Linked DNA regions of Homo sapiens: all the other regions are linked to region 1. Evidence: promoter capture Hi-C in 16 types of primary human blood cells and fetal thymus (Javierre and others, 2016). All regions are on one chromosome and are shown on one strand. The core of a region is centred on a gene start or on the middle of the fragment in contact, and the rest is flanking DNA. Distances in the headings are between cores, read along the strand shown.

Region 1 (2,700 bases), core at 75-2,574:
AAATGGTAGCCACTTTGGAAGACAATTTGGCAATTGCTTACAAAACTAAACATTCTCTTACCTTATGATCCAGCAATCATACTACTTGGTATTTATCCAAAGGAGATGAAAACTTATGTCCGCACAAAAAAACCTGCACACAGATATTTATAACAGCTTTTTTTCATCACACTGGGGTGAGGGATGTTGATAATGGGGAAGGGCTATGCTTGTGTCGGGGCAGAAAGTATATGGAAAATCTCTGGACATTCCTTTCCATTTTGCTGTGAATCTAAAACTGCCCTCAAAAAAAGTTTAAATAATTTTTTTAAAGCAGTACTGTATTGTGATGTTTAACTCAATTACTTATTACAAGAAAACTATTCAACTGGTCAAAACGTTATATATAAGAAGTTTCTGTTTGTTAAAAACATTGTTTCAAATATATTTAGGCTTTGACTTTTAAAAGTATACAGCAACATTCAAGATAACTAGACAGAATGCACTGCAACTTGGCAGGTTTTTAAATCCTTGGACTTACTGGCCTAAGGAAAGATGTGTAAACATCCATGATTCAGAAATACAGGGAGAAATTGGGGCAGCCAGACCTCATCCTCTTGCCCTAAAGGGAAAAGATATCTTTCTTGCGGTATCTAAGATATGAATCTTAGATAATATTCATGCATGGCTAGGAATTGGAATAATGGGAAAGTCTTAATTCATGGGAAATTTTCTAATAAAGTTCCACCTCCATTTCCAGCCATTCCTCTTTAACAAATACATTTAGTGAAAAATACTACCAGTTGGGGAGAAACCAAATGGGTATGTGTATATGTAGTGTTTCTCAGAGTGTGGACTTTAACCACGTTTAATTACATAAATTTACGAGGATCTGTTGAAAATGCAGGTTCCTGGGCTTCACTCCAGTTGCTCTGAAATGAAAGCTGTAGGAGTCGGTTGGTGAAACTACATTTTGTTTCTCAGGTGATTCTTGTGTACTCTAACTCATATATAGGGTGATGTTATTTATTTACTGGTTATTTATTTACCGGTTATTTATCGTTTGGCAAAAAAATCCAGCAAAGACTCACAAGTGACCTTTACACTTGACATAGGATTCTCTTCCGCTGCTGACGCTTTTTTTTTCTAAGAGGCGGGGACTTGGCTGGGCAGGGCTGGGGGAGGGCGCTAGGCGGGGCGGGCAGGGGCGGGGCAGAAGAGCCCTGGGCTGGGTGGGGCAGGGCGGAAGGGCCCTGGCCTTGTTGGGTGGAGGTGAAGAGTTAATGGCTCCGCGCGCAGGCACTGCCCTCTGAACTGGAACAAAATGCAACTTCCGGTTGGAGTCACTCGGCCAGGCGCCGGCGACCTGAGGGGAGAGGGAACGCAGCTGAAAGCGTGAACTGTGTGAGTAAGAAACTTTGTGAATTGGTGTGTCCGAATCCGTCAAGCACGACGTCGGAGAATTTGTATGCGTGAGCGAGAGGGACGCGCTGACAGTAGGGGCGCCGCAGGGAGAGAAGCCGAGGAGCAGCGGAGACAACCAATTTGCAGTTTGGGGAGGGATTTTGTGCGGGAGAAACCACGCGAGTCCTTCCCCCGGAGCGGACTCCTTGTGGGTTGGTTTCCGGGCCCGCGATGTCAGCATAGCATCGTCGGCCTCTGCCCCAACGGCTTCAAGGGAGGGACTCGTCCCGGCTGCTTTGCCCGGGAAATGGGGGTGGAAGGGCCTGCGGTGTCGAGGTGAGCAGTGGACCCTCCAGGAACATTCCCGACTTCCCTTCGGGAGAGAGACTGCCTCCTAGAATCAAGTAGTATCGTGGTTACTCTTTCGAAAACTTAATTGGTTCTTTCTGTTGTTTTCCCAAGGTGGTTGCACAATTCCCCTCTGCCTTCCTGTGGGGTGTCATCATAGCCTGGTCAATGAGAAGTTGGGTAACTTCCCAGAGGGTCACGGAGGGAGTGGGTGGCCAAGGCAGGAAGAACAGAAGCCAACCCCGCCCACAGTGGGAACCCAGGCGTTAGGTAGAGTCCTCACGCCGGTGTAAACTGACTAGCAACGAGTTACAGGCAAAAAAGCTGTGCTTTTCTAGAAGTAGAAAGGGGGAGGATAATCAAAGAAGAGCTGTGCCTTTATTGTTATGCTATAACGAGCAAAAGTAAAGCAGCCTTGCTATGTAAAGTGGTGTTTATCTCACCTCACAGGAGATGCTTTTGACAAGTTATAATAAGGGAGAGATGGTAGTAAAGGAAGTGAAGAAGCGACGTGAAATTGAAGGAAAAGAAAATGACCTGCCTTCTTACCGCGGTTGGAATACACACCCAAACGAGAGGTAGCAGAGAAGCAAGCAGTGCATTCTGTTAAAAATTATTGTGTCCTCATTTGAGAGAGGAGGGATCCTCAAATAATACAACTATGTGCAAAGCAGGAAGTGAAATCCTTCTCAGTCCTCTCCCCAGTTGTAATCCAAGCCTTCCACATCTTTCCTGTATGTGCATAACCATGTTATTTTGCTTTCTTATGAAAATGAGATTATGCATACTGTTCGATAATCTGTTTCAGATTAAATATATATATATGGTGAAAGTCTTGCCATATGTAGCTCTATTTTATTGTAATGTTGGCGTGGTACTGCATTGTGTAGATGTACCAAATTATAGTTAACTGTCACTTACTATGTCCTGTCCGTATATATTGCCCAGTATTCTTCAAAATTATCTGTT
Region 2 (2,700 bases), core at 67-2,566, 1.2 Mb after region 1:
GTAAGGAAAGGCTTAGACAATATTTTCATGTCCAAGCCTTTCATGTTGCTTTGCATGTTTTTGAATCTTTACTATTGCCATTTTGTTATGGCTTTAGTTAAAACTAGATCACATAATCTGTAACATCAGAGAATCCCACATATATAAACTGTAATAAGTCACAATAGGCTGAAAAGAAACAAGTGGGAGGCCAGCATACAGAACTCTATGTCATCCCTCAGGATACTACCAGAACCACAGCAGTTTCTTTAAACATTTTGCTTCCCGCCCCTTAAAAGATTTTTGAAAAACTATATACCCTTTTCCCATATTTTATATTGACATATAAAGTTTTTATTTTAAGTTTAAATAGTTGTAAAGAATACAATACCCAACATATTGTAAATGTTGACACTTAAAGTTTCATTGTATTTACACATATATTCTTCTAAGTATGTGTCTTGAGGTTTACTTCTTAGTTTTACTTTAGGTAAAATCTTGCATTGTTTTACTTTTTGTTTACTTCAGTGATGTTGGTAAACATTTTTTAAAATTGTACATGTTCCTCTTAGATTAAGTTCTTAGAGGCTAGTAACTTTCTTTTTTCTTTTATACTTCTTTTAATGCTGGGTAATATATGTTGATGAATTGAATTATGTCTTAATGTAGGACATCTAACATTTTGTAGTTAAAATTTTTGTGATAAGATTATAAGCTTTTGGTAACTGTTTACTTTTTGACGGACTTCTAATAATTTCTTTTAATCCAACTTTCATAGATAATAGGTAGTATTTATATTACTAACCTTCTCCCCTTTCACTATTATAGTTTGGAAATTTTAGCATTCAGGTGCCAGGAATGCAGATGGGACAGCCAGTGCCAGAAACAGGCCCAGCTATACTCCTCGATGGATACTCTGGGCCAGCATATTCAGACACTTATTCCTCAGCTGGTGACTCCGTGTATACTTACTTCAGTGCTGTTGCTGGACAGGTGAGATGCTAAATTTATTGCATAAATATGTCTTTAAAATTATTGTTTAAGAGAAATGTCAGCTATTTAGAGTATCATTTTAAATGTATATGAAATTTATATTTTATATGTATCTAGACTAATTTTTTTCCTGAGATCAGAGATGAGCATAGTCATAATTATTTCATTTTAAAAGTCTGTTGATGTGATGCTTGATACATTGTTCATTTGACTAAAAGAGGAAACATTGTTTTCCATAGTGCGGAAATCTGATTCTTTCTTACCTAGTATGCTTGCGTTACTGAAATTCTTCTACAAGGGGCTCCTCTTACTAGTCACTAAACACCCCACCAAAACTTAGATATATCTTCTTATGAGTTATAATTTTTCTGTCACTTAAATCTTTTTATTTCCTTCACTCTGTTTGACATTTAGGAGCATCATACTCTCCCTGAGTGATAGATAACACAAAGCTAAGTAGGTTTAGCCTGCACATTCTTTTATAGCATGCAAAAATGACTATTGGAAATTTTAGGAAAGTAGGAAGCACTTTAAAAAATTATAAGGAACAATATTTCTAACTTGGGCCTCACTCCCATTTTTTAAAAAAAACTCAGTTAAAACCTAAGTATGTCAAACAATATGATTGGAAATCACTTCAGAGTCTCGTAAATTTATTCAGGTTGAGAAATTACATTTTTTTCACAGGTGAAGTTATATCATTTATAGTAATTTTGATTTGATATGGCTGGTAAATTTTCCAGGTTATCAAAATAATCATGTCAGGATTTATTAATTAAAAATTAAAGGAAATAGTATGTTACGATGTGGTATGGTTTTAGGATGTTATTTGTTTCCAGTAAATTTGAGTGATTATTTAAAGGACTGACTTTATTATGACCAATAGGGACGTGTGAAACTGCCAGTTCAAGTACATGAATTCTGTGGGTGAATTGTTACTGATGATATGTGAATACTGTGGTCAACGGAAGCTTTTCTTTTACTCCTACATAACTGTAACACCATACCACAGTTTATTCTTTTCCAAGTGATTTTATATATATTTTTCATGTGAAATTTCAAGGAAAATTAAGCAAATAGGATATGTATTATACCCCTTTGTATCAGTTATTAGTTGTATTTGACAGAAGTATTGAGTAAATATTCAAGATCGGAAGGAATACAATATTATAAGATGCCAATGTCTTCCAAATTAATTGATAAATAATATAATATTATATGAGTCAAATTCCTAAAGGTTTCTTTTTCTTTTTTCTTTTTGGCACTTGCTGCAATGATTCTAAAGTCTGTCTTGTATACTATGTTGTTGAGAATAAATATTAAATTATAATATATCATATAAATGTATTATTAATAATTGTGATAGTGTGGTCCTAATGTAAAAACAAACATAATACTGAAGAGCCCAGAAGCTTACCTGTGAATTCAGTATATGGTAGAGGTAGCATTTCATATCAGTGGGGAAAGAATGATTCCTGAATTAACTATCCTGAAATAATTAACAGTTTATCTAAAAGTAAATGTAAATCTTCAGCCTGTACCATATAGTAGCATGAATTCCAGATATATTAAAGGATTGAAAAGAGGGTGTATTGATGTTTATCTCCTGTTGTTGAAATAAATGAGCTTGTCTTTTTTTTTTTGCTGCTGCTTCAGCATGTATTGCAGCACCTGCTATATTTGTGTTTTTGTCTACAAAACTTCTTAGAAGAGTGATGAACTAAGATA
Region 3 (2,729 bases), core at 40-2,539, 1.4 Mb before region 1:
GAATTATTTTTCTTTAAAGGGCAAATTAATTTCCTCAAAAGTAATCTCTGTTCACTTTATCCCATACCAGATGCTTATTTTCATTTCATATCCTAAAAGTTAGATTGGCACTTACATGCCAACTTAAAATACCTTTAAGTCTTTAAAATTTATAGTATTTTAGAATTTATCATAGTGAAACATGTACAGTCTGTTAGTCCCCAAGACAATAAAATAAGGATGATAGTGACTGATACTCCATTCCCTTCCGATGTAATGACAAACACGTAGAAACACTGTGTTTCATTTATTGGAATTATTTGGATCCAAAGGATTGCTTTTAATACCTTAACAAAATAGGTCATTAAAAAAAATCAAGTGCCTTTCAGTATTCTTCCAAGTTTCAATAACTGATCTTTTCCATTAAAAAACTTTTGATTCATTATTCCAAATCAACATATCATCTAAATATTTACACATAGTTAGATGTAGCTTTTCCCTAACCTACTCCCTTTTATTTATTAGTACTCATTTACATCTTAGTTTGCCACATTTACAGTTCTTTGAAAGTTTCATCTAATATTCACCAGACCATTCACCTCACAATTTTCCTCCCTCTTTCTAAATAGGTGAATTTGTTTACTGCAAAATCGATGGCTACGCTATTAAAGGTTACTATCACGATTTTAAAAGACATGATCACCATCATTTACCAAGATTCTTACCACAAGGAAATGATCACAAGGTTGGACAAACAGGCTCCAACTCTTAAGGGAAAGGGCTTGCAGTTAGATCACACAGGGCGGGCAGGGAAGCAAGCGGGGAGGGGTAGGTCGGAAAAGGCAGTGCTTGATTCAATTCAACATTCACTGCGCCACTTACCAAGAGCCAGAAAAAGAAAAAAAAAAAAAAAAAAAGCCAACCAGCTGGGCGTTATTTCGAGCACGGGGCCCTGCAGGTGGGCCTGTGGGCGGGGACCCGGCGCCCGGGAGGGAAGGGGCTGGCTCAGAGACTATAGACGGGCGGGGACCGCCCCGGCCCGGGCCTCCAGCGCCCGGCGCCCGCACACTCGCCAGCCCAGCTGCCGGCACGCCGGCCAGCCAGCCGCTGCCGCTTACCAGTGGCGCCTCGCTGACTCCCCGGGGGCAGCTCTTCAACGGTTCCCGCAGTCAGAGCACCACCCCGCGGTGGGGTACCTCCAGCCCGCCCGCAGCTCTCGGTCCCCGCCGCGCCGCCACTCTCGCGAGAAGCCAGGAAGTCCGCGAAGTGGGGGGAGGAGGAGCAGGGAGGGGCACTTAACGGTGGTGGCTGGTTCTGCGCCGGATCCGGGAGAGGGGCGGGCGCCATTGTGCTTCGCTGCCGACTGCATTTCCTCAGTCACGGGCCTAGAACTCCAAGGAGAAAGGCGGCGGTGCGTGTTGCTGCGAGTGGGACGCGCACTGGTCGGTGCCGGCTCAGGAGCCGGGGTAATGAGCTGCGGAGCTAGTTCTTCTCCGTCTTGGGCGCTAGTTCGGGACCAGGCCGCGAGTGGGGGAGGGGAGGAAACGAAGAGGCCTGGGGACGCGGAGGCCGCTTCCTCTCAGGATGAGGTGGAGAAGCTTGGTCCGGGGCCACCGGGGCCAAGGGGCCACAGCGCAGGCCTCCCTTGCCAGGGGCCTTTGGTCGGGTGGTGGAGTTTGTGGCGGGTGCAGGGGACAGATTGTGTGTCTTCCTCAGGGACGTGTGGCGGGTGACGGGAAGAAGCCTGAGCCCTCCTTTGGCGCGGGGCGGCCTCCTCTTGGGCCGTGGGGCGGGGGGTCTTCGGAGCCCTGCGGGCCGCGGGTGTCGCGCGTGAGCTCGCCGGTGAGCGCGGGGCAAAGGCGGGCAGGGCTCCGGCTCGGCCAGCCCGGCCTCGAGTCGAAGTGACTTCGGTAGCCCCTTAGATTCGGCCAAGATTGTCTTATTGGTAACGTCAGTTTTTGAATATCGTGACGCCCTGAGAGTTATTTTTGTGTTGTGGTGAATTGTGGGTTCTGCAACTCGAAGTAGGTGATTGTATTAAAAATGGACCTGTTGGCCTAAGAAGTAAAAATATAGAAGGCGCCGGGAGTAGGAAACTCCCTCATTTTGGTGAAACTGCGTATTGAAGATGTGTGTCCACCCCCTCACCCCAAAATGCTGCACTTAATACTTTTTCTCAAGTACCAAAGTAAATATATTGGGAAAGTCTATCTGGGTAATAAATTCGTCACGACTAATGTTGTTTGTTACTATTAGTTAAATGTGTGAAAACTGAAATTTGGCGAGGTTTTCTCCCCCATTTTGTAGGATTGATTAGCTATTTTTCTGATTACATGTTATTTTAAATCTCCACCTTTCTGTCCAGAACCAAGATGTAGGATTAAAGATGAATTTTCGATTTAAAAATCCAATAGTATACAGTTATTAAGAAGGCACACATGTAGTGTAACTAGATCTTTTACTTGAGGTAGCAAAAAGTTTGTTTGAGAAATGAGGTCAGTATAATATTTTTATTTAACAGCTCTACAGCATTTTGGGAGACAGGACTGGTGCATGAGGCAGTAGCACCAGACTCAGAAGACCTGGGTTTGAGTCTTGATTTTTGCCATAGTTATTTAAGTTCACGAGATTGTCTCAGAAACATGGCAGTTAATTTCTAGAGAGGATTAAATTTGCTGAGGTGGTGTGTGAAGCAGTCACTAGGGGACATAATACTAGTCTTGGTTTTTTTCCAAGTTTAGTGCTGGGTC

Evidence for each region. The method cuts DNA at HindIII sites, captures the fragments that hold promoters and counts their contacts. A CHiCAGO score of 5 or more calls a contact.
Region 2: a contact is called between a fragment that was not itself captured here and the fragment with the promoter of TANK in region 1, in 1 of 17 cell types (non-activated CD4 T cells). The highest score is 5.4, in non-activated CD4 T cells.
Region 3: the fragment with the promoter of MARCHF7 here is called in contact with the fragment with the promoter of TANK in region 1 in 1 of 17 cell types (non-activated CD4 T cells); the score reaches 5.7 in non-activated CD4 T cells.

Annotation. Positions count from the first base shown.
Region 1 is chr2:161,159,104-161,161,803 of GRCh38, forward strand. It overlaps TANK (TRAF family member associated NFKB activator), which reads left to right and starts at 1,325. Exons shown (of 8, transcript NM_001199135.3): 1 at 1,325-1,383. TANK-AS1 (TANK antisense RNA 1) reads right to left here and starts at 1,187. Exons shown (of 3, transcript NR_187173.1): 1 at 1,029-1,187; 2 at 62-133. RefSeq lists an enhancer at 1,035-1,798. The HindIII fragment of the contact is 6,780 bases long and covers 1-2,700 here.
Region 2 is chr2:162,346,771-162,349,470 of GRCh38, forward strand. GCA (grancalcin) reads left to right here. Exons shown (of 8, transcript NM_012198.5): 2 at 808-972. Among named protein-coding and RNA genes, the nearest start is that of GCA, 4.0 kb to the left of the region's middle. The HindIII fragment of the contact is 1,249 bases long and covers 693-1,941 here.
Region 3 is chr2:159,711,217-159,713,945 of GRCh38, forward strand. MARCHF7 (membrane associated ring-CH-type finger 7) reads left to right here and starts at 1,290. Exons shown (of 12, transcript NM_001282805.2): 1 at 1,290-1,390. It also overlaps a transcript of BAZ2B not described here. RefSeq lists silencers at 739-1,248, 1,769-1,888 and enhancers at 865-1,531, 1,299-1,578. The HindIII fragment of the contact is 3,093 bases long and covers 1-1,575 here.